Regions from separate parts of the Homo sapiens genome. Here regions 1, 3, 4, 5 and 6 are each linked to region 2. The links are contacts of gene promoters, found by promoter capture Hi-C in blood cells and fetal thymus (Javierre and others, 2016). All regions are on one chromosome and are shown on one strand. Each heading gives the region's core, a stretch centred on a gene start or on the middle of the fragment in contact. The rest is flanking DNA. Distances are from core to core; before and after follow the strand shown. Region 1 has its middle 3.3 kb from the start of LINC02131. Region 2 holds the start of CLEC3A (C-type lectin domain family 3 member A). Region 3 has its middle 51 kb from the start of LINC02131. Region 4 has its middle 43 kb from the start of NUDT7. Region 5 has its middle 17 kb from the start of NUDT7. Region 6 overlaps LINC02131 (long intergenic non-protein coding RNA 2131).

Evidence for each region. The method cuts DNA at HindIII sites, captures the fragments that hold promoters and counts their contacts. A CHiCAGO score of 5 or more calls a contact.
Region 1: a fragment that was not itself captured here is called in contact with the fragment with the promoter of CLEC3A in region 2 in 1 of 17 cell types (M0 macrophages); the score reaches 6.4 in M0 macrophages.
Region 3: a contact is called between a fragment that was not itself captured here and the fragment with the promoter of CLEC3A in region 2, in 2 of 17 cell types (M2 macrophages and M0 macrophages). The highest score is 5.7, in M2 macrophages.
Region 4: a contact is called between a fragment that was not itself captured here and the fragment with the promoter of CLEC3A in region 2, in 17 of 17 cell types (M0 macrophages, monocytes, M1 macrophages and 14 more). The highest score is 13.9, in M0 macrophages.
Region 5: a fragment that was not itself captured here is called in contact with the fragment with the promoter of CLEC3A in region 2 in 1 of 17 cell types (endothelial precursors); the score reaches 5.3 in endothelial precursors.
Region 6: a fragment that was not itself captured here is called in contact with the fragment with the promoter of CLEC3A in region 2 in 1 of 17 cell types (M0 macrophages); the score reaches 8.1 in M0 macrophages.

What each region holds. Positions count from the first base shown.
Region 1 is chr16:77,585,824-77,589,321 of GRCh38, forward strand. No RefSeq gene overlaps it. Among named protein-coding and RNA genes, the nearest start is that of LINC02131, 3.3 kb to the right of the region's middle. The HindIII fragment of the contact is 1,769 bases long and covers 852-2,620 here.
Region 2 is chr16:78,021,078-78,024,368 of GRCh38, forward strand. CLEC3A (C-type lectin domain family 3 member A) reads left to right here and starts at 1,471. Exons shown (of 3, transcript NM_005752.6): 1 at 1,471-1,664. The coding sequence starts at 1,550. The HindIII fragment of the contact is 14,741 bases long and covers 1-3,291 here.
Region 3 is chr16:77,639,884-77,643,287 of GRCh38, forward strand. No RefSeq gene overlaps it. Among named protein-coding and RNA genes, the nearest start is that of LINC02131, 51 kb to the left of the region's middle. The HindIII fragment of the contact is 6,955 bases long and covers 1-3,404 here.
Region 4 is chr16:77,677,517-77,681,016 of GRCh38, forward strand. No RefSeq gene overlaps it. Among named protein-coding and RNA genes, the nearest start is that of NUDT7, 43 kb to the right of the region's middle. The HindIII fragment of the contact is 9,706 bases long and covers 1-3,500 here.
Region 5 is chr16:77,704,061-77,707,356 of GRCh38, forward strand. No RefSeq gene overlaps it. Among named protein-coding and RNA genes, the nearest start is that of NUDT7, 17 kb to the right of the region's middle. The HindIII fragment of the contact is 445 bases long and covers 1,268-1,712 here.
Region 6 is chr16:77,610,555-77,613,641 of GRCh38, forward strand. LINC02131 (long intergenic non-protein coding RNA 2131) reads left to right here. Exons shown (of 3, transcript NR_184319.1): 3 at 1-124. Among named protein-coding and RNA genes, the nearest start is that of LINC02131, 21 kb to the left of the region's middle. The HindIII fragment of the contact is 4,696 bases long and covers 1-3,087 here.

The DNA of each region.
Region 1 (3,498 bases), core at 486-2,985, 430 kb before region 2:
TCGAAAGGGGAAGCTGAAAGGATATTTATGTTGGTGACAAAAGGCCTCAGACTGGTGCTAGGTAAAAGTAAATTGGGGTGGAAGTGAGGATCATCAGGAGAGTTACTGTAAGGGACCTGCACTCATCCCAGAGCAGAACACGTGCCAAGATCCCTTCACTTGTGGATCAGTCTAAGTGTCTTTGTTTCTAGAGAAGGCAAAAGATTCTAGCTGACTCATTTCCCACCTACTGTGCTGTCCTGACTCATTTCCCACCTGGCATCGGTTTCTCAGATGAGATCCTCTTGTTGACATCTGATTGGATTTTCCTTGGCATTACTCTAGGAAAGAATCCTACACATTAATACTGAGTAAGTGCCCAGGTTGGGGGTAGAAATCAAGTGTGGCAATTTACTGGTGAGGAGAGATCAGAGGTGAAAAGGCTCAATGCAGAGCGAAAAAACCTGGGGTGAGCCATGGAAGAGGGAGCTATAGGCCTGTATCACCCTTGAGCAAGGGACTTAACAAGCGTCAGTTTCTTAATCTATAGAATGGGCTTAATATTCACACAGCAGAGCCCTGTGATGAAAAGTAAAATTATTCTCTTCCTTTGGAATTTTATAAGAATGCACATTGAAATCACCTATGAAAAGTACTTTCCACATACTTGACACTTAATGGCTACTCAGAAAATGGTATTTTATCTCTGTAATGATCCAGGGTGGCAAACATTGTTGAACCTGTTTTAGGAAGGCAGCTCAGTAAAACTTTTTAAAGATCACACATCTAGTAAGTGTTTGGGTTTGAGGGGGCATGAAATTCAGTTCCAGATCTAAAGCTTATAGCCTTCCCAATGAGGGCAGAGATCCTAAAGCTTCTGTGGGTATCACAATCTCTTGTGAGGCTGCTTAAAAGTGAACATTTTGGCCAGGAACAGTGGGGCTCATGCCTGTAATCCCTACACTTTGGGAGGCTGAGGCTGGCAGATTGCTTGAGTCCAGGAGTTCGAGACCAACCTGAGGAACATGGTGAAACCTCGTTTCTACAAAACATACAAAAAATTAGACAGGCATAGTGGCATGTGCCTGTAGTTTCAGCTACTGGGGCTGGACTGCTTGAACCAGGAGATTGAACCAGCATCCGACCTGGATGTCTGAGTTTTAGGAATGGTGTCTTCCTCCCATGTAGGGAGACACCTCTATAGGGGCCAGTGACCCTGGGTCTGCACAGCTGTCATGTCTGGGGTCCTGGTTACCTAATTTGGCAAGTGCCCTCAGGTGGCCCTGACACAAAGCGCCTGTTAACCATGACAAACCTCGAGTCTGATAGTCTTGTTTCTCTGCCTTCTCCAGGCGTTGGGACCACAGTACAGCCTGTTCTCCTTCAGCACTTGGATCCTAAGGGATGCACTTCCCTTGCAAAGGAGGAAAGAAATCACTTCTGGGAGCCACTCCCATCACCAGCTCATCTGCCTCCCACACCCTGCAAGGAGCTCTTTAGTCATTTGTCCATAGTAATCCTCTGTGGAAGACAACTGTGCCCCCCGGCCCGCCACCCCAGGGGATCTGGCAATATGTGCAGACATTTTTGGCTATCACAAGTAAGAGGTGAGTGCTACTGATGGTGATCTACAGATCACAGCGAAGAACACTGCTAAACATCTTACGCTGCACTGGGTGAGCCCTCCCCACTGCCCAACAAAGAATTATCCGATGTCAATTATCAGCAGTGACCAAGGTTATGAAACCCAGAATGAGAGATTCATCCAATCTTTAGTTCTTCTGCTAGAAAGCCAATGTCTCCAAAAGTATTTCCTCAAGAGGCAAGATAAGGAAGCATTCAAATATTTGTAAAACAAGGCAGAGGAAAGGAAAATGGCAGGTGTTCATTGATTCTCTATACATACGTTGTTGCATTTTACATGTGCATTTGGTTGCTTTTTTGGCTTTGTTTTCATTTACATCAGCCCCTGTGAGATGGGGACTTTTATTACCTCCATACTACAGAAGGGGAAATGGATACCCCTCTGGATAAAGCAACCTTTCAAAATCACGGGCTGGGATTCAAACCCTGGGCTTCCTGACTCTGAACCTGGTGCCCCTTTCTGAATTCCACAAACCATCTTAGATCAGCCGGGGAGGAAATGGAACAGTCAAGTCTGATAATAGGAGGAGGCAGGGTCCTTCTATGCTTCCCCTTTCAGTGTCTTGCCTGGGAAATGTAAATAATTTAGAGCACAGGGGCCGGAGGGATAATTACCCTGTCTGGTTTCAGAGGCCACCCAGATGGGTGTTAAGGACGAGCTGGAACTCACAACCCCCTCCCCACCACCCATGCCCTACGCTCACCTCTCTCCCTCTAACCCGCGTGCTTTCAGACTCTTGCCGTTCCAGGGCTTAGAGCCCCCTCTCATTCACAAGTCCTGCCCTTTCACCAGGGAAAAGGCAAAAGGTCAAGATATTTGGCAACCAAGTCCCTCAAGTAAAGAAACAGCATTACAGGCTGAGTAAAATGGTATGAAGGCAACACTCAATCAACATGTGTGTTTTTGATGCCTACTGTATGCAAGTCTCTATGCCAAGAACACTGAGGACAGGGAGGTTGAGATAGAGTATTCATCCCCCTCCCATTCATCACAAAAAGCTTTACCGAGCATATAGATTATGCTCATCCCAGTGCTAGGCTCTGATGTACCAGGAGAAATAAAACAGGATCCCTGACCTCAAAAGGCCTGTGGTCTCATAAAAGTGCTAGTTAAGACACACACTGATAGCAGGATGGAGAATGCATAGTCAATGACCTGTGTGTTTGATGGATGGATGGATGAATGAATAAACGAAGTGGTATTAAACAAGGGATGAGTACCATTCCAAAAGTGCAGTTAAAGTGTTGGGGAAGGGTGCAGAAGTGAGTGAAATATGACCTGCAACCAGGAAAAATTTATGGGATGGATTGGCCTTTAGGCTTAACAAGATTTACACACGGGCATGAGAAGAGCTACATCCTGGAAGAGGAGAATTAGTCAAAATTTTGGGGGGTAAATACCTTTTCAGACTGGAGGGAGAAATTTTTCCAGAGGTCAAAGCTGTCTGGGAAGACAGATGGGACAGGTACTCTAACCCTTGTCCAGGTACTCAACACAGAGGAGATTGTATCTGGAGGCCTTCTTATATTATCTCACTAAGACTCATGAGAACCAGCAGGTATGTGCTCTTAAGAAACGCATTTAACAGAGGAAGAAGCTGAAACTACCCACCTACAACTCCAGAAGGTAAGTGGTAGAGCCCAGGTAGGATCCCAGGGGCCCTTTGATTCAGTTTCTGGGGCAGGAGTCTGCACACTATGGCATGTGGGTCAAATCTGACGTGTCACCTCTTTATGTAAATACAGTTTTACTGGAGCACAGACATACTCATTTGCACATTGTCTATTGCTCCTTCCATGCTACAACAGCAGAGTTGAGTAGTTACAACAGAGACCACAAGGTTTGCAAAACCTGAAGTATTTACAATCTGGCCC
Region 2 (3,291 bases), core at 221-2,720:
GTGGAATGCAGGAAGGCCTTTCCCTGGGTCTAAATTCCTCCCTCTCGGCTATTCCTGTAATGCAAGTCCATTGCTTTTGATGCAAAAGCCTATCAGGTCCCGAAAACTTGCCCTTAAAGCCTATGGTTAAAGGTAGGAATAATTGAGTTTCTCATTACATTAATTTTATTTTTATTTTTTATTTGAGAAGGAGTCTGGCTCCGTCGCCCAGGCTGGAGTGCTGTGACAAAATCCCGGCTCACTGCAACTTCTGCCTTGTGAGTTCAAGCGATTCTCCTGCCTCAGCCTCCAGAGTAGCTGGGACTACAGACTCCTGCCACCACGCCCAACTAATCTTTTTGCGTTTTTTAGTAGAGACAGGGTTTCCTCATGTTGGCCAGGCTGGTCTCGAACTCCTGACCTCAAGTGATCCACACACCTCAGCGTCCCAAAGTGCCGGGATTACAGGCGTGAGCCACCACGCCCGGCGAGTCTCTCACTAGGTTTCTGTGCTATTACATCATGCACTTGAAAGTGTTGTTTAATGTGTTCAAGGAAAAATGATTGGTGAGGACCTGAAAAAATAGCTATTGATCTATTACATTAATTCTTATTCTAATGGAAATAATTCACTTTTTAAAATTTTCTTTTCACTGTAAGGTACATTTTCCCAAGAAAGTAATTTGCCCGGGCTGGAGGGCAGTGATCTCGAACTCCTGGGGCTCAGGTGATTCTCACACCTCAACCTCCCAGGTAGCTGGCATTACAAATGTGTGCCACCATGCCTGATGAATTTTTTTATTTTTTTGTAGAGATGGTGTTTCGCCATGTTGCCCGTGCTCTTCTCGAACTCCTGACCTCAAGGGATCCACCCACTTCGGCCTCCCACTGGGACTACAGGTGTGAGCCACCACATGCAGCCCCAAGGAAGTAATTCTTGATGAGTCTACAAAATCCTAATGGAGGAAAGCCCTATATTTTATCATCGAGTATCTATTTCCGCAATCTCCATAAATCCCACTGAGAAAACTACTTCCAAGCTACACTTGAGCTGCGCAGACACATGAGTATGAGTAGACACACTGGCTTGAATGGTGCTGTGGCACCACACACACACACACACGCAGTAACTTTCCTTTTTCTCCAATTTTTTTTTTGCCCTGAAAACTAAATTGAATCCATTTTCCAGAACATTTAGTGAATTTCAGAGTTCCAAATCAAAGAATTTTTCACAAAGACCCCAATCTTCTCAGAGTTTAAATTTAAAAAAAGAAAGCAGGCTAAACCTGTAGTTAAGTTTGACACACTCCAAAAAGGCAAATCACTAGGAAATGCAGCAGAAATTAAATAAATAGAAAGCCTAACATGAGGCACAAGAACAAGAGGCCACCTTATGCTGTGGCCAGCAGAGGCATTCAAACATTCCGTCAGCAGGATTCCAGCCAACCTCCGAAGCTCACTTTTATAAGCCAGCCCCAGGCATCCCAGAGCAAGATGTAGCTGTGTAGTCTCCTTCCATAGCTGCTCTAAGGGGGCTGGCAACATGGCTCAGCAGGCTTGCCCCAGAGCCATGGCAAAGAATGGACTTGTAATTTGCATCCTGGTGATCACCTTACTCCTGGACCAGACCACCAGCCACACATCCAGATTAAAAGCCAGGAAGCACAGCAAACGTCGAGTGAGAGGTAATGGGGCTTCTCAATCAAGCAAAATTCTAGGCTTAGACAGTGTGGGGAGGTGCTGGACAATGTTAATTTTCAAACTCCTCCAGGAGACTATCTTCGGTGATGGCACCATGCCATCATCCCTATATGGCATTTCAGGGGATTAAGTGAACTTGTAATGCTCTGGGATAGTTTATTTTAAAGAAACCAGGCTGCTGGGTTTTAAAAAAAAACAACAGGGAAAAAATTTGATAGTAAAAGAATTCTGTGTTGTATATTTTTTGTTAGGTGGGCTTAAATAGAATGTGCTTCAGAGGAAGCTCAAGTGGATTTCTGAAAATCTGGTGTTATTAATATGGGGCAAGAAGAATGTATTAACTGAGCACACTGTTTCACTAGTAGATATTGAGTAACTCAATTCAGTTATATTTTAAGATAACTATAATCTTATTCAATGTGTAGCAGAGGATAGAGATTTTGGTAATGGTGACTTCCTGTTTTGTCATTAGTTATCATTAGCTGTATTTCCATATCCTTGGCAGCATAAGGACAACCTATACCATATATTTAAACTTTTTCATGTCAGAGACATTGAATCTCTCCAACTTAAAAAAGTCAATATGCAAAGTCATCTAGTATTTGAAGGCATTGTGATGCAAAACTGAATCTCCCAGGAACCTCAAATTTTGAGTGACTTGAATTGGGTTAACAGGTTAAAGAAATTGAAAAGAACAATGATGATAGCGAGGTGTTTGCAATACGTTGAAACCTAAGCAAAAGAAAAAAACAAGACAGAGGGTCATGTTTTATCACATCCTCTGCATCATTTTCATTTCAGGATATTTCAGATTATGACTATTTCCTTATTTTCACTCCATTAGTAACAACACACACATACACAAATTTCAGCAAGGTTACAGTCTATTTCACATGACAGATGGCTGGTGGGTAAAAAGGGGTCTTGTGCTTTAAGGATTATAAAGTACCATTTTTTCAGGGACATTTATTTACAAAATTTAGGTCTGGTGCAAGGTTTCTTTTTTTTTTTTTTTTCTGAGACAGAGTCTCGCTCTGTCGCCCAGGCTGGAGGGCAGTGACACAATCTTGGCTCACTACAAGCTCCACCTCCTGGGTTCACGCCATTCTCCTGCCTCAGCCTCCCAAGTAGCTAGGACTACAGGCGCCTGCCACCACGCTCGACTAATTTTTTGTATTTTTAGTAGAGACGAGGTTTCGCCGTGTTAGCCAGGATGGTCTCGATCTCCTGACCTCGTGATTCGTCAGCCTCGGCCTCCCAAAGTGCTGGAATTACAGGCGTGAGCCACCGCGCCCGGCTAGTGCAAGGTTTCTTAAGTGGAATCTTTTTTCCTTAAGAAATACTGTACTTCTTTCGGTGAAAGATTAAAATATTTCTCATGAGTAGATGAAACATATTGCTGAAGATGGTATCGAAAGGAGAGGGGAGAGAGAAGATACTGGGTGACATGGTACATTTCTGTAGCCAGCGTTTCTTCACTGCTGGATGGAGTGGCACTCCTCGTGAGAGTGGCGATCACCCAGTAGGAATGTGTGAAGAGGGTCTGAACATGACTGAGTGTGCATGTGGGTGCTGTGTGGGTGTTTCTGAAGTAATCGCAGCTTAGGTCAC
Region 3 (3,404 bases), core at 224-2,723, 380 kb before region 2:
AAGGAATGCAGGCAGCCCCTAAAAACCGAAAATGCAAATAAATACATTCTCCCCTAGAGCCTCCAGGAGGAGGCAGCCCTGCCAACACCTTGATTTTCACCCTGTCAGTCTCATTTTGGACTTCTGACCCCCAAAATTGTAAAATAATAAATATATTTTGTTTTAAGCCACTAAATTTGTGGCAATTTATTACAGCTGCAATCAATAGGAATCTAATACAGGGTCTTTGTGAGCAAATCAGTTTCAAAATATCCTTTTTCACCAAGTGCACGTATTAAGTAAGAGACTATGCACAGGGTCTCCCACCAATGCTAGCTACTTTCTAACAGAGTAGCCACCAATGCTAGCTAACTTATCCCTTCCCTTGGAAATATCACATCCTGGGAGCCTTAAAAATAAAATCACAGTTTAAGTCATTTGTGGTCTGTCCTATTCTCTGACAACATTCAGAAACACTAAAAACAATAAACTGTCTTTTTGGGAGGAAGTCTCAAGCACAGGTCTTATTTTAAAAGCTCCTCAGGTGGTCAGGAGATTGAGACCATCCTGGCTAACATGGTGAAACCCTGTCTCTACTAAAAATACAAAAAAATTAGCCGGGCGCAGGTGGCGGGCACCTGTAGTCCCAGTTACTCAGGAGGCTGAGGAAGGAGAATAGCGTGAACACGGGAAGCAGAGCTTGCAGTGAGCTGAGACAGCACCACTGCACTCTAGCCTGGGTGACAGAGCGAAACTGTCTCAATAATAAAAACAAAAAAACGCACCTCAGGTAATTCTAAGGTGTGATAAGGATTGGAAACACCCACAGGAAAGCTGCTAAAGAGTCCTTTGACAGCACAGGTGGGAATGCCTCAGTCTAGCCGAGACCAGAGTCCAGTCTCCCTTTCTTCTGACCCTACAGTTATCTCTATCAAGCCCACAACGTGGCTTCCCAGGTCCTTCTCCTAGATACACTGGTTTTTTAATTTTGTTTCTCATTGCAGAAAGCTCTTATCAAAAGAAAGCGGAGTCACAAGTCCAACAGATAAGAGATGAAAATGGGATTTGAAAGCCTAGAACCCGTCTGATGCATTCCACATCTCCTCTGAACCAAGTTAAAGAGTTGCAATTATTGACTCTGTCAACCAGAGAGCTGGGCTGGAGTTGAGTAACCTAATGTAGCTTGTCCCAAACCATATGCCACAAACCACCACAGCCTCAAGACATTCACAGGTGTTGTCTGGAAAAACAACAAGAGTGAGGATCCCATGGTCAAATACACCATCCCTGCTCTCCCACTCTTGGCTAGAGGCTCTAAGATGCCCTGCAGTTTTAAAAAATGTTAAATCTAATACTTCCTAAAGCTATTTGACCAAGTAACCTTTTTTAAATTTCAATGGGTTTTTGTGGAACAGGTGGTATTTGGTTACATTACTGTTATTTAGGGGTGATTTCTGAGATTCTGGTGAACCTATCACCCGAGCAGTATACACTGTACAGAATGTGTGGTCTTTTATCCTTCATCCCCCTCCCGCCCTTTCCTTAAGTCCCCAAAGTCCATTATATCATTCTTAATCCTTTGCATCCTCATAGCTTAGCTCCCACTTATGAGGGAGAACATACAACGTATTATTTTCCATTCCTGAGTTACTTTGCTTAGAATAATGGTCTCCACTTCTATCCAGGTTGCTGTGAATGCAGTTATTTCACCAAGAAACAATTTTTGTAAGGAGCATCTGTCATTCAGGAGACCCAGTTTGGAAATTCCAATTCCTTCTTTTAAAGATGAGAAATGAGGGTTTAGAGGGGACATAATTTGTCTACAAGCACTGAATCACAGTCTGCCAACGCCTCGTGCATCTCCTTGGCCCGTGGAAGCTCCCCAGGCCCTGATTGTCTCCAGCATGCTGGCAGCTTTCCCCTCCAATGCCTATATTTCCAGTCACTGTCAGAATTTCCTCGGGTTCCCTGGATACTTGCTGTGGGAAAGGGGAACGATTAGAGTTGGTGCATAAACGCACTGGTTTTCCCATCCTCATGGTGGCTGTGCCCTACGTAGATTCTCAGAGGGTCTCCAGTGGGAGTGAGTCCTGGTTGTCCACTGCAGAAAGTCTGCTCATGAGTGCCTCACTGATTGGCTTTCCTCCTTTTCCTCCTTTTCCTGCCCCTAACTCTACTTCCTCACCTGTTTTTTCTGGATCCACTTCCTAATAAATTAACCACACACGAGTCCTTGTCTCAAGGCCTGCTTTGGGAGGAAACCTAAACAAAGAGTTACTTACAATCCAAGTTAAGAACAGTGACCTAGATGTAAGGCCCTGTTCAGACACTAAATAAATGATTTGGTTTTTATAAATGAAATCAGATTCTAGCTTAAGATTCCAAGTTTTAAACAGCCATAGACATTTCCTCCTGAGACAAAGAGCTGAATTCTACTGTCAAAATCCAGAGTTTCAGCTTTTTCTTCCTTCTAACCCCTAAAAAAAAACAAAGAAAGAAGGCTGTGTTAGAGACAAGACGTTTTGCCTTATCTTCAGAAGGTAAGAAGGGCTTCTCCACCGTGTGCCCTTTGGTGAAAGGTCACAGTCAAAAAATGTCATGGCTTGGCGCGGTGGCTCTTGCCTGTAATCTCAGCACTTTGGGAGGCCGAGGTGGGATCACTTGAGGTCAGGAGTTCAGGACCAGCCTGGCCAACATGGTGAAACCCTACCTCTACTAAAAATACAAAATGAGCTGAGCGAGGGGGCACGTGGCGCGTGCCATAATCCCAGTTACTAGGGAGGCTGAGGCAGGAGAATCGCTTGAACATGGGAGGCAGAGGTTGCAGTGAGCCGAGATCACACCATTGCACTCCAGCCTGGGCAACAAGAGCAAAATTCTGTCTCAAAAAAAAACAAAACAAAACAAAACAAAACAAAACAAAACAAAAAAAACAAAAACACTATGTCATGTTGCCAGAATTTTCTTTCAGACCTAAGAAGGAAACAGAAATGCTTAAGAAAGTTGAACTCAGGAATTTCTCAACAGGATGCACATCTGAGGTGGCTCGCGCTACCAATTTAAAAAAAAAAAAAAAAACAGTGAATAAATTTGCTCAAGAAATTAGCTGTCGATAGCAGGGTTATAAAAACCTAGCCAGAGATTTTTATGTTTGGCTGAGGATCTCAAACTGTTTTCCAGATAGTTGAGGATCAGTAAACTTAACACATTTTTCTCGGCAACTTTTCCCCCCCTTTAATTTCCAAACTCTGAAATTATAAAAAGCAACTTTCATATGTGTGTTTTTCTTAAATTATTAGTTGATATCAAGCAGGCAGGTAAGCATTTTCTGGTTACTCTTAGCAGAAGGATTTTCAAGAAACCCTATTTTGGTATATTTGATTTTCCCTATATTTGAATTGTACACACTTCTGGCATGTGGATGG
Region 4 (3,500 bases), core at 937-3,436, 340 kb before region 2:
AACACATTCTAGATGTTTCTAAACTATAATTACAAAACAGTGCTTCTATCTCTGATAGAAGATTCTACAGGACACCACAACTACCGTTACTAATAGCCTATGTTTTGTGATACCTAATTTGGGCCAAGCTCTCCATATAAATTATTTTTATAATCCCTCACGATAACCCAGTGGGGCCGGGTGCGGTGGCTCACGCCTGTAATCCCAGCACTTTGGGAGGCTGAGGCGGGCAGATCACCCGAGGTTAGAGTTCAAGACAAGCCTGGCCAACATGGTGAAACCCCGTCACTATAAAAATACAAAAAACGTAGCCAGGCATGGCGGTGGGCGTCTGTAATCCCAGCTACTTGGGAGGCTGAGGCAAGAGAATCCCTTGAACCCGGGAGCCGGAGGTTGCAGTGAGCTGAGACGGTGCCATCGCACTCCAACCTGGACAACAAGAACGAAATTCTGTCTCAAAAACAAACAAACAGAAGCAAAACAAAACCCTCTGGAACAGACGTAATTTTTATGTTTTCTGACAGAAAATCTGAGGATTAAAAAATGTCAGGTACTCACTGTATTAGATTATTCTCACACTGCTAATAAAGACATACCCGAGACGGGGTAATTTATAAAGAAAGAGGCTTAATTGACTCACAGTTCAGCATGGCTGGGGAGGCCTCAGGAAGTCCACAATCATGGTGGAAGGGAATGCGAACACATCCTTCCTCACGTGGCAGCAGCAAGGAGAAGTGCAGAGTGAGAAGGTGGGAAGAACCACTTATAAAACCATCAGATCTTGTGAGAACTCACTCAATATCATGAGAACAGCATGGAGGTAAGTGCCCCTATGATTCAATTACCTCCCACTGGGTCTCTCTCACGACACGTGGGGATTATGGGAACTACAGTTCAAGATGAGATTTGGGTGGGGACACAGCCAAACCATATCATTCACCAAAAGTTGCAATGATAGTAGGAGATACCAGGCACAGTGGCTCATGCCTGTGATTCCAGCACTTTGGGAGGCCGAGGGGCAAGGATTGCCTGAACCCAGGAGTTCAAGGCCAGCCTGGGCAAGATAAAGAGACCCCATCTCTACTAAAAATACAAAAAATATTAGCAATGCACCTATAGTCCCAGCTACTTGGGAGGCTGAGGCGGGACGATCACCTGAGCCCAGGACATCAAGGCTGTGGTGAGCTGTGATTGTGCCACTGCCACTCCAGCCTGGGAGACAGGAGTGAGACCCTGTCCCAGGAAAAAAAAAAAAAAAAAAGCCTGGCACGGGGACTCACACCTGTAATCCCAATACTTTGGGAGGTGGAGGTGGGTGGATCACTTGAGGCCAGGAGTTCGAGACCACCCCTGGCCGACATGGTGAAACCCCATCTCTACTAAAAATACAAAAATTAGCTGGGCGTGGTGGCACACACCTGTAATGCCAGCTACTCAGGAGGCTGAGGCCGGAGAATCATTTAAAACTGGGAGGCGGAGGTTGCAGTGAGTCGAGATCACACCACTGCACTACAGCCTGGACGACAAAGCGAGATTTGGTCTCAAAAAAACAAACAAACAAACAAAAAAAGGTTGTAACATGTGGTAGAATCAGAACTCAAAACATAGGCGTGGTTGAGACTAGTGACTGTTCTTAATCACTGTGGAAGCCTGGAGCAGAAGACCCAGCTCTCCTAGGAGGTGAAAGGTTAAGTCTGAAATGTCATGCGATGCCTGCTTGGATTCTTGGGAATGATCTGTGCTGATCTTATAAATCTCTCTCCTAGACTTAAATTTCTCTACATACCTTTCAGTCCTTATCCAAGAAAAGTTGGCTTAATACATACAACTAGAATCGAGGCAAATTAGACTCCTTTAAATGCGTCCATAATGTCTGCTTCATGGCTCTTCAAAAAAGACATGCGATCCTGTGAAATGCTAATTTGATACATAACCAAAGGAAAGTAACATGCTCTTGTCTTGGCTAATTCGTAGCTGTTAGTTGAGCAACACCGTTTATTTCCAGGGCTAGCCTTAGATATAGCACAATTATAGAAAAGGGCTGTCAGCACTAATTGCTCCATTGCATGCCCAAAAAGTTCTACAGAATCTGAAATGCTGACAAACAGTCCAGACCCACTGGAAAACATCTGCAAATCATAATCTTTTAATTTCAATGAACATGGTGGAAAGTTTCAGCTTCAATGACTTACTAAATCCCTGAGCCATCTTAAAGTCTTGTGTTCTTTTCTTTCCTAAGCCAAAGAATAAAACAGCTTTGAAAGTTGTGTTTTTTAGAGTGTGGAGCCAAAATGACTGCTATAGTTGTTAATGTTTAAAATGACATTTCAGATATGCCATCTAACCTAAATGAAAATTTTAGAAGGCTATTGATCATTATAAAAATATTTTTAAAGATATAATTTATATACAGTACCATAAAATTCATTTGTTTTAAGTGTACAATTCAATGATTTTTGCAGTAAATTTTCAGTTATGCAACTAGTGCCATAATCCAGTTTTAGAACATTTCCGTTAGCCCAAGGAGGTCCCTTGTGTCAGTTTGAGGTTATATGCCTCATTTCCACCTCCAGTAACCCCTAATCCTCTGTTGCTAAAGTTCTGCTTTTCACGACATTTCACGTCAATGCCACCATAGAAACTGTGTTTGCATCTGGCTTCTTTCACTCAGCATATGTTTTTCAGATTCATCTACATTCTAGCATGTAACAGGGCTTTGTTCCTTTTTTATTCCTGATTAATATTCCTTTTATGGATGCAGTTCATTTTGTTTAAGCATTTACCATTCAATGGATTTGTGATTGTTTCCAGTTTTCAACCATTACAAATAATGTTGCTATGATAATTCATGTCCAAGTCTTCATGTGGACACGTGTTTTCCGTTCCTTTGTGTAGATACATTGTAATAGAATTGCTGGATTATATAGTAAATTTATGTCTAATTTTTAATACTTTGAATTTTATTTATTTATTTTTTTTGAGACTGTGTCTCGCTTTGTTGCCTAGGCTGGAGTGCAGCAGCATGATCACTACTCACTGCAGCCTCACCTTCCAGGGCTCAAGCGATCCTCCCACCTCAGTCTCCAGAGTAACTGAGACTACAGGTGCATGCCACCTCACCCAGCTTTTTTTGTTTTGTTTTGTTTTGTTTAAAGAGATAAGGTTTCCCTATGTTGCCCAGGCTTGTCTCAACCCCCTGAGCTCAAGTAATACTCATGCCTCAGCCTCCCAAAGTGTTGGTATTACAGATGTGAGCCTTTGTGCCAGGCCTGAACTTGTTTTATGTGTAACTTTTTAACAAACTGCCAAACTGTTTTCCAAAGTGGCTGCGCTATTTTACATTCCCAGGCTGGTCTTTATTTATTTATTTATTTATTTTGCAGGAGCGTGGGTAATTTTTTGTAGAGACAGGGTCTTGCTAAGTTGCCCAGGCTGGTCTCAAACTCCTGGGCTCAAGCAATCCTTCCACCTCAGCCTTTCAAAGTGTTGGAATTACAGAC
Region 5 (3,296 bases), core at 240-2,739, 320 kb before region 2:
GTAATTAATTATTAACAATTTCTGTCTTCAAAATTTGGTATGCATTTTATATTTAAAGCATGCCTGAATTCATACTAGCCATATTTCTAGTGCACAGTTTTTATTATTGCATGAGATTTCTCTTTCTTGTTCAATTTTGTGAAAGTTGTGTTTGCCTTGACTTCCACTGCTTAAGTTTAAACAGCTCAAAGCCCAACAGTGTACTCTCATTTGCTCAAACTTCCCTCTCCAGGCTTGGAACAGGAGATCTAAGTCCCAATCCCAATTCTGTCTATTAAACTTTCTGAACTTGGACATGTTGCCATTTCATTGTCAATGTCCCAATTTCCCCATCAGAAGTTGAGTTACTTATACTAGATGTCTGAAGATCATTCTCTACTCTCCTGATGCTAATAAATTGTCTGACTTTTTGTTTCAAGAAAAGGGTATTTTTTTTTCCTTTTATTGTCTTGTGATGCTTCTGAGAGAGGTGAAGTTGATGCATGGAGGACTTACTCAGCATTCCCCATTCCCTAGCCCTCTGCCCACCCAACTATCTTTGAAAATTCCTAGCCTCTGAATTTTCAGGGAGGTTGATTTGAGTAATAAACTCCCATCTTCCATGTGGCTAACCCTGCATTAATTAAACTCTTTTTCTGCTGCAATACCTCTGTCTCAGTGAATTGGTTTTATCTGTGCAGTGGGCAAGAAGAACTTCTGGGCAATCACAAGAAGGCAGCCATTTCAAATAAAAGGGAAAAAAGTTTTCACAGGTTAAGTGGTTTTGCCAAAGTCATGCAAGGTTAGTGGCTTCCAAAACCAAGATTAGAGCCCACATTTATCAGGGCTCTTAGCAGAGACCATCACCATAACCTCTTGTAACAGACACTTGGTTCTCGTGGGTGATGGAAAGCATGGTCTCAGCTCTGGAAGGATTTCTGAAATGGGAAAAGGAAGTGTTTTTCTCAGCAATCCATTAGTGAGATACATTCTTCAACAATGTAGGAAGTTGTTGGAATAACTTAAAGAAGGAGCTCATTGCCATTATTTCCTTTGGCCTTTATAAAGGGCTCGCCAAGGTATTACTGGTTCTGGGGGATGTCTGGGTTAAACGGCTTTTGTTCTAATACATCTGATGGTACAGCTTAAACGCAAAAGGAAAGCAAAATGGCGCTGCTTCAGAATTTAAGCAATAACCCAGAGTAAAAACAAGCAGGAAAGCACCAAGCTCTTATGTGTTCACGTAACATCACTAGGTGCCATTTCCCTCCTGGAAAAAATCTCGAGAAGCTTCCCAAACGCGCAACATGAGAAAGGTTATTAAAGCATTTATTCTAAGATGACTTTTTAATTGCAAAATGATAACATCCCAGCATCTCTGCCTCACTGAGTTGAGGGAAATATTTAGAAACTGTTTGTGTGCCCTAAGAGAAAGGCTGGTACATAATTGCAAATTATTACCACTTCTGCAGGTCATGCTGACAAGATTATCTCTCAGCGGGCTGACAATCAGAAACCTGCTTCTAGTCGGGTGGTTTTTCACAGCTGGTAACCTTTTTCTTTTTTCCTGGATGGAACGGAAATTAACATTGTATGCCTGCTCCTTTCACTTTAGTGGGCCATTTATCATATTAAAGCCCATTGGTCTAGGTACCAGCCTCACCAACTTAGGTAAACAGAGTTCTAGGAGGAACCGACAGATGTTAGCAAGACAAGTAATCACAGAACAACAAAGCTTCATTGCCACAGCTGTTACATAAACAGTTTTCAAAAACATGGCAACTAGGAGGCAATTTAAGGAGAGAATCTTCAGGGGATGCTTACAATGCTGGTAATGCTTAGATTGCAATGGAGGCTTAAATCTCCAATTTTGTAATATGACTGAAAAGGCCCAGCATGATCTGGCCCTTCCCACATCTCTATGCCCCAGTGCCTCCCCGCTGCCTGCAGCCACCTGTTGTCCCTTTGGGTCCTCCAATGCTCTGAGCTCCTTTGCACCTTGGGACTTCATGTGTACTTCTCTCCTTCATTTAACAGAACTCCATTTAAATTCTACTTTCTTAGAATCTACTCATTCTCAATTAGCCCCCTCCCTTTATACTCTTAGAGGTTTCTGTATTTTCTCCCCTTCTTGATACCTATTGAAAGTTATTTCACTTTACTGTTTTTTGTTTTTTTTTTTGACTCAGGGTCTTGCTCTGTCACCCACGCTTGAGTGCAGTGGCGCAGTCACAGCTTACTACAGCCTCGAACTCTGCGACTCCACTGAGCCTTTTGCCTCAGCCTCCCGAGTAGCTGGCACTACAGGATAATTTTTTTTGTATTTTTTTGTGAAGAGAGGGGTCTCGGCCAGGTGCTGTGGCTCACACCTGTAATCCCAGCACTTTGGGAGGCTGAGGCGGGCGGATCATGAGGTCAGGATTCAAGACCAACCTGGCCTAGATGGTGAAACCCCATCTCTACTAAAAATGCAAAAATTAGCTGGGTGTGGTGGCGTGTGCCTGTAATCCCAGCTACTCGGGAGGCTGAGGCAGAGAATTGCTTGAACCCGGGAGGCAGAGGTTGCCATGAGCCGAGATCCACACCACTGCATTCCAGCCTGGACGACAGAGTGAGACTCCAACTCGAAGAAAAAAAAAAGAGAGAGAGAGAGACGGGGGGTCTCACTATGCTGCCCAGGCTGGCCCCAAACTCTTGGGCTCAAGTGATTCTCCCACCTTGGTCACCTCGTGCTGGGATTACAGGCATGAGCTACCATGCCCAACCCCTACTAAAATGTAAAGTTATATATTTATTTCCTTGATTATCAGTTTATGTGTCTGTGTCATTAGAACATAAGTCATGTGGTGGAAGAGATCAGGTCTGCTTGATCATTCTATCTCCAGTGTCCCATATGTAGTTTGCACTATTACTTGTTGAATGAATATGGAGAGTTCTCCATTTTATGGATGATTCCAATTATTTCTCACCACACCTCTCGAGTCCCTTGACATAGGTATCGTCACCCCATTTTACAAAAAAGGAAATGGATTGGTGGTGACACAATTTGCCCAAGATCATGTAGCCAGTGCATAGTGGGGTGAATTGCAAATTCAAGTAGAACATGAAAACCTGTGGTTTTCCTTCGTAGCATCTTCTAAATACTTGTTTGGCCTATAATATCAGAACTTTGGGAGGCTGAGGTGGGAGAATCAGTTAAGGATAGGAGTTCAAGAGCAGCCTGGGCAACATAGTGAGACCTTGTTTCCACAAAAAATTTTAAAAAGTTAATGAGGTGTAGTGGCGCACAACTGTAGTCACAGCTACTCGGGAGGCTG
Region 6 (3,087 bases), core at 185-2,684, 410 kb before region 2:
GACCGTTGAAGAATGCTGGATGAAAGGCGACTGCCTTCATGGAACCCGTATGGACTCCGTGTATATTTTTTGGGTAATTTCCTATGACTCAGTAATTATTTCAAAATAAAAATGTTTAAAAAGTGAAGTCACTATGACTCCATCTTCATTTTCACCTCCAGATATTCATGACCTCCACTGGCCCACTGGAAGTTCCCTCTCTCATTCTTAGACAAGTAAGCCTTCATTTCATCTATAGCATTTCAATGGGATTTTTGGAGGTAGAGGAAGCAAATTCTTACATTCATGTGTGTACACTCAGCAGTCAACGCATACTTTTTTTTTTTTTTTTTGAGATGGAGTCTCACTCTGTCATTCAGGCTGGAGTACAGTGGTGTGATCTTGGCTCACTGCAACCTCTGCCTCCCGGGTTCAAGCAATTCTCCTGCCTCAGCCTCCCAAGTAGCTGGGATTACAGGTGCCCACTACCACACCTGGCTAATTTTTGTATTTTTAGTAGAGATGGAATTTCACCATGTTGGCCGGGCTGGTCTCAAACTCCTGACCTCAAGTGATCCGCCTGCCTCGGCCTCCCAAGGTACGGGATTACAGGCATGAACCACCCCACCCGGCCCATACATTTCTTTCGAATTAAGAGAAGCATGAGGTCTTAAATCACAGTTTCAATTAAAAGCCCAATTTATAAAGAACAAGATTTCTTTAAAAGTAATCTACATTTAGTGATATGTTATTCAAATATTACCTATTCCCTTATGAATTCTAAATACTTTCCTTGAAATAAAGTAGGAAGCATTAAACATGTATAGGCTTCTTGTATGTCAGTCTTACCTCAAAAAAGCAGTTAAAATATTAAATAATACCACCATTGAGTAAACATACACACACATACAAAGAGGGTATTATATCAGAAGTCTACATAGTAGGATCATGCTGACTAATTATACTGCAAAATTTTCCCATATTACTAAGCATGTCAGCACAAGTCGGATCTGTGCCCTTGACTTTTGCTAATAATGTTCTGAAGAAGCATTCACATTGCAATAGTTGCTGCATATGCTATGGACGTCTTTTAAAGGAATTTTCCCATAGATTACTCAATATCTCCTCTGTGATATCACTTCATAAATTTCCTTTAGAGCAGTGGTTCTCAAATCATGGTCCATAGACCAGCAGCATCAGTATCACCAGGGAATGTGCCAGAAATACAAATTCCCAGGCTACAATGATTCAGACACTCTACGGATAGGACCTAGAAATCTGTTTTAATAGGTCCTCTAGGAGACTACCAGGCAAACTGGAGTTTGAAAACTACAACTTTAAGACATAGTCATGGGTTCTCTATTTTGGAAGTGGCTACAATAGAGAAACTTTTTTTTTAATGACTTAAAATACAAGAAAAGAATGTGGTGGCTCACACCTGTAATCCCAGCACTTTGGAAGGCTGAAGAGGGTGGACATTTGAGCTCAGAGACCAGCCTGGGAGTTCGAGACCAGCCTGGGAACCATGACAAAACCATGTCTCTAGAAAAAAAATACAAAAATTAGCCAGGCATGGTGGCATGCATCTGTAGTCCCAGTTACTCAGCAGGCTGAGGTGGGAGGCTTGAGTCCAAGAAGTGGAGGCTGCAGTGAGCCAAGATCTTGCCACTGTACTCCAGCCTGGGTGACAGAGCGAGACTCTGTCTCAATTAAAAATAAGAAGAAAAAATATGTAGTGATGGGGGAAAATCCCTGATAAAAGTATTTTTATTCTAATTTTCTGCTACTGGGAGCTTTGTGAATTTTAAATTCTTTTTTGGGTCAGGGGAGGTAGGATGCTCAGAGCCAAATTGGAAGCTCAGTCACAGTAAATATATTAACCCAGAGAGTTAGCATATGGATTTCCTCCTCCTTTCCTTGCCCCCATTTCTTATTTTTATTTTATTGGATTTTGTTCCTTTGGGAAAAGTATAAAGTTATAAATATAGTCAATAAATTTTGAAACTGCTTAACAGTGGCAATGTGCTTTTGTATGCTGCCACATGTTCTGAGTATGAAATACAGATCATGATGACCATGCAGATGTTACCAGATATTAAATTGTTTCGCAAATAGATTACAGAGCATGAAAATCCAAATACTGCCTAGAGAAAATATTTTCACGTGTAATTCCCAGGGATATTCTTACAAAATAGAATTGTTATTGCCTTTTTGTTTAAATGTAAGAGGAAGGATTTGGGCTTAGATTTATTATATTAGTATATTAACCACCACTATTGTTCTTTTGGCTTCTTGCCTTTGGGTGATGTTTTCTTGTGGAGAATTATTTTCTGTTTCCATCATCTTGAAATAATGTGTATTTCAATTGTCTTTTTCTTTTCCCTGAGCCAACAGACCAATAAAATTCCCATTTGAAAAGATTCTTCTAAAATATTATACATAACGAACAAAACACTAGGACTGCTGTTAAGTTTCACTATTCCCATGAATGTGTCAGATCTGGGGGTGTTTTTTCTGTGATACATTCTCATGTACCATTTAAAACAATATGGTCAAAAAATACTCTCTTAAAAATTAAATGAATAACCACAACCATCATCAATAATCAATAAATGTTTCTTGAGCAACGTTTCAGTTGTTTCTTTTTTTAAGTCTGAACTTTGGAGGACAGAAAAAGTGTGTATCACATCCACTGAAGACTGACTAGCATAGACTGATTATGTTTCCATTGGAACCTACTGTTGCAGACTCCTTCCAATCTGCCTGACTCATTCCTGGAGGCCTGATCTAATCATGCTCTAGGGCCTGGTCGCAACCAGGCCTTTGACAACTTCTGGGTCCTGTTCTGAAACAGGCAACCACATCAAACCTTCAAGCTGTTGTCCACCTACTTCCAAGCATGATCACCTCTTAGAATTTGCTGCTGCTCCAACCCCCAATAAGACAGAGCCCCTGGGCATCACTACAGGAACACTCCAGAGTTCTTACCCTTGGAACCCACGCTGTGTATTAGTTTCTCAGGGCTGCCATAACAAATCACCACAAACATAGTGGCTTAAAATAACACAAATTTATTGCAGTTCTGGAGTTCTAACATCAGACTCGCTG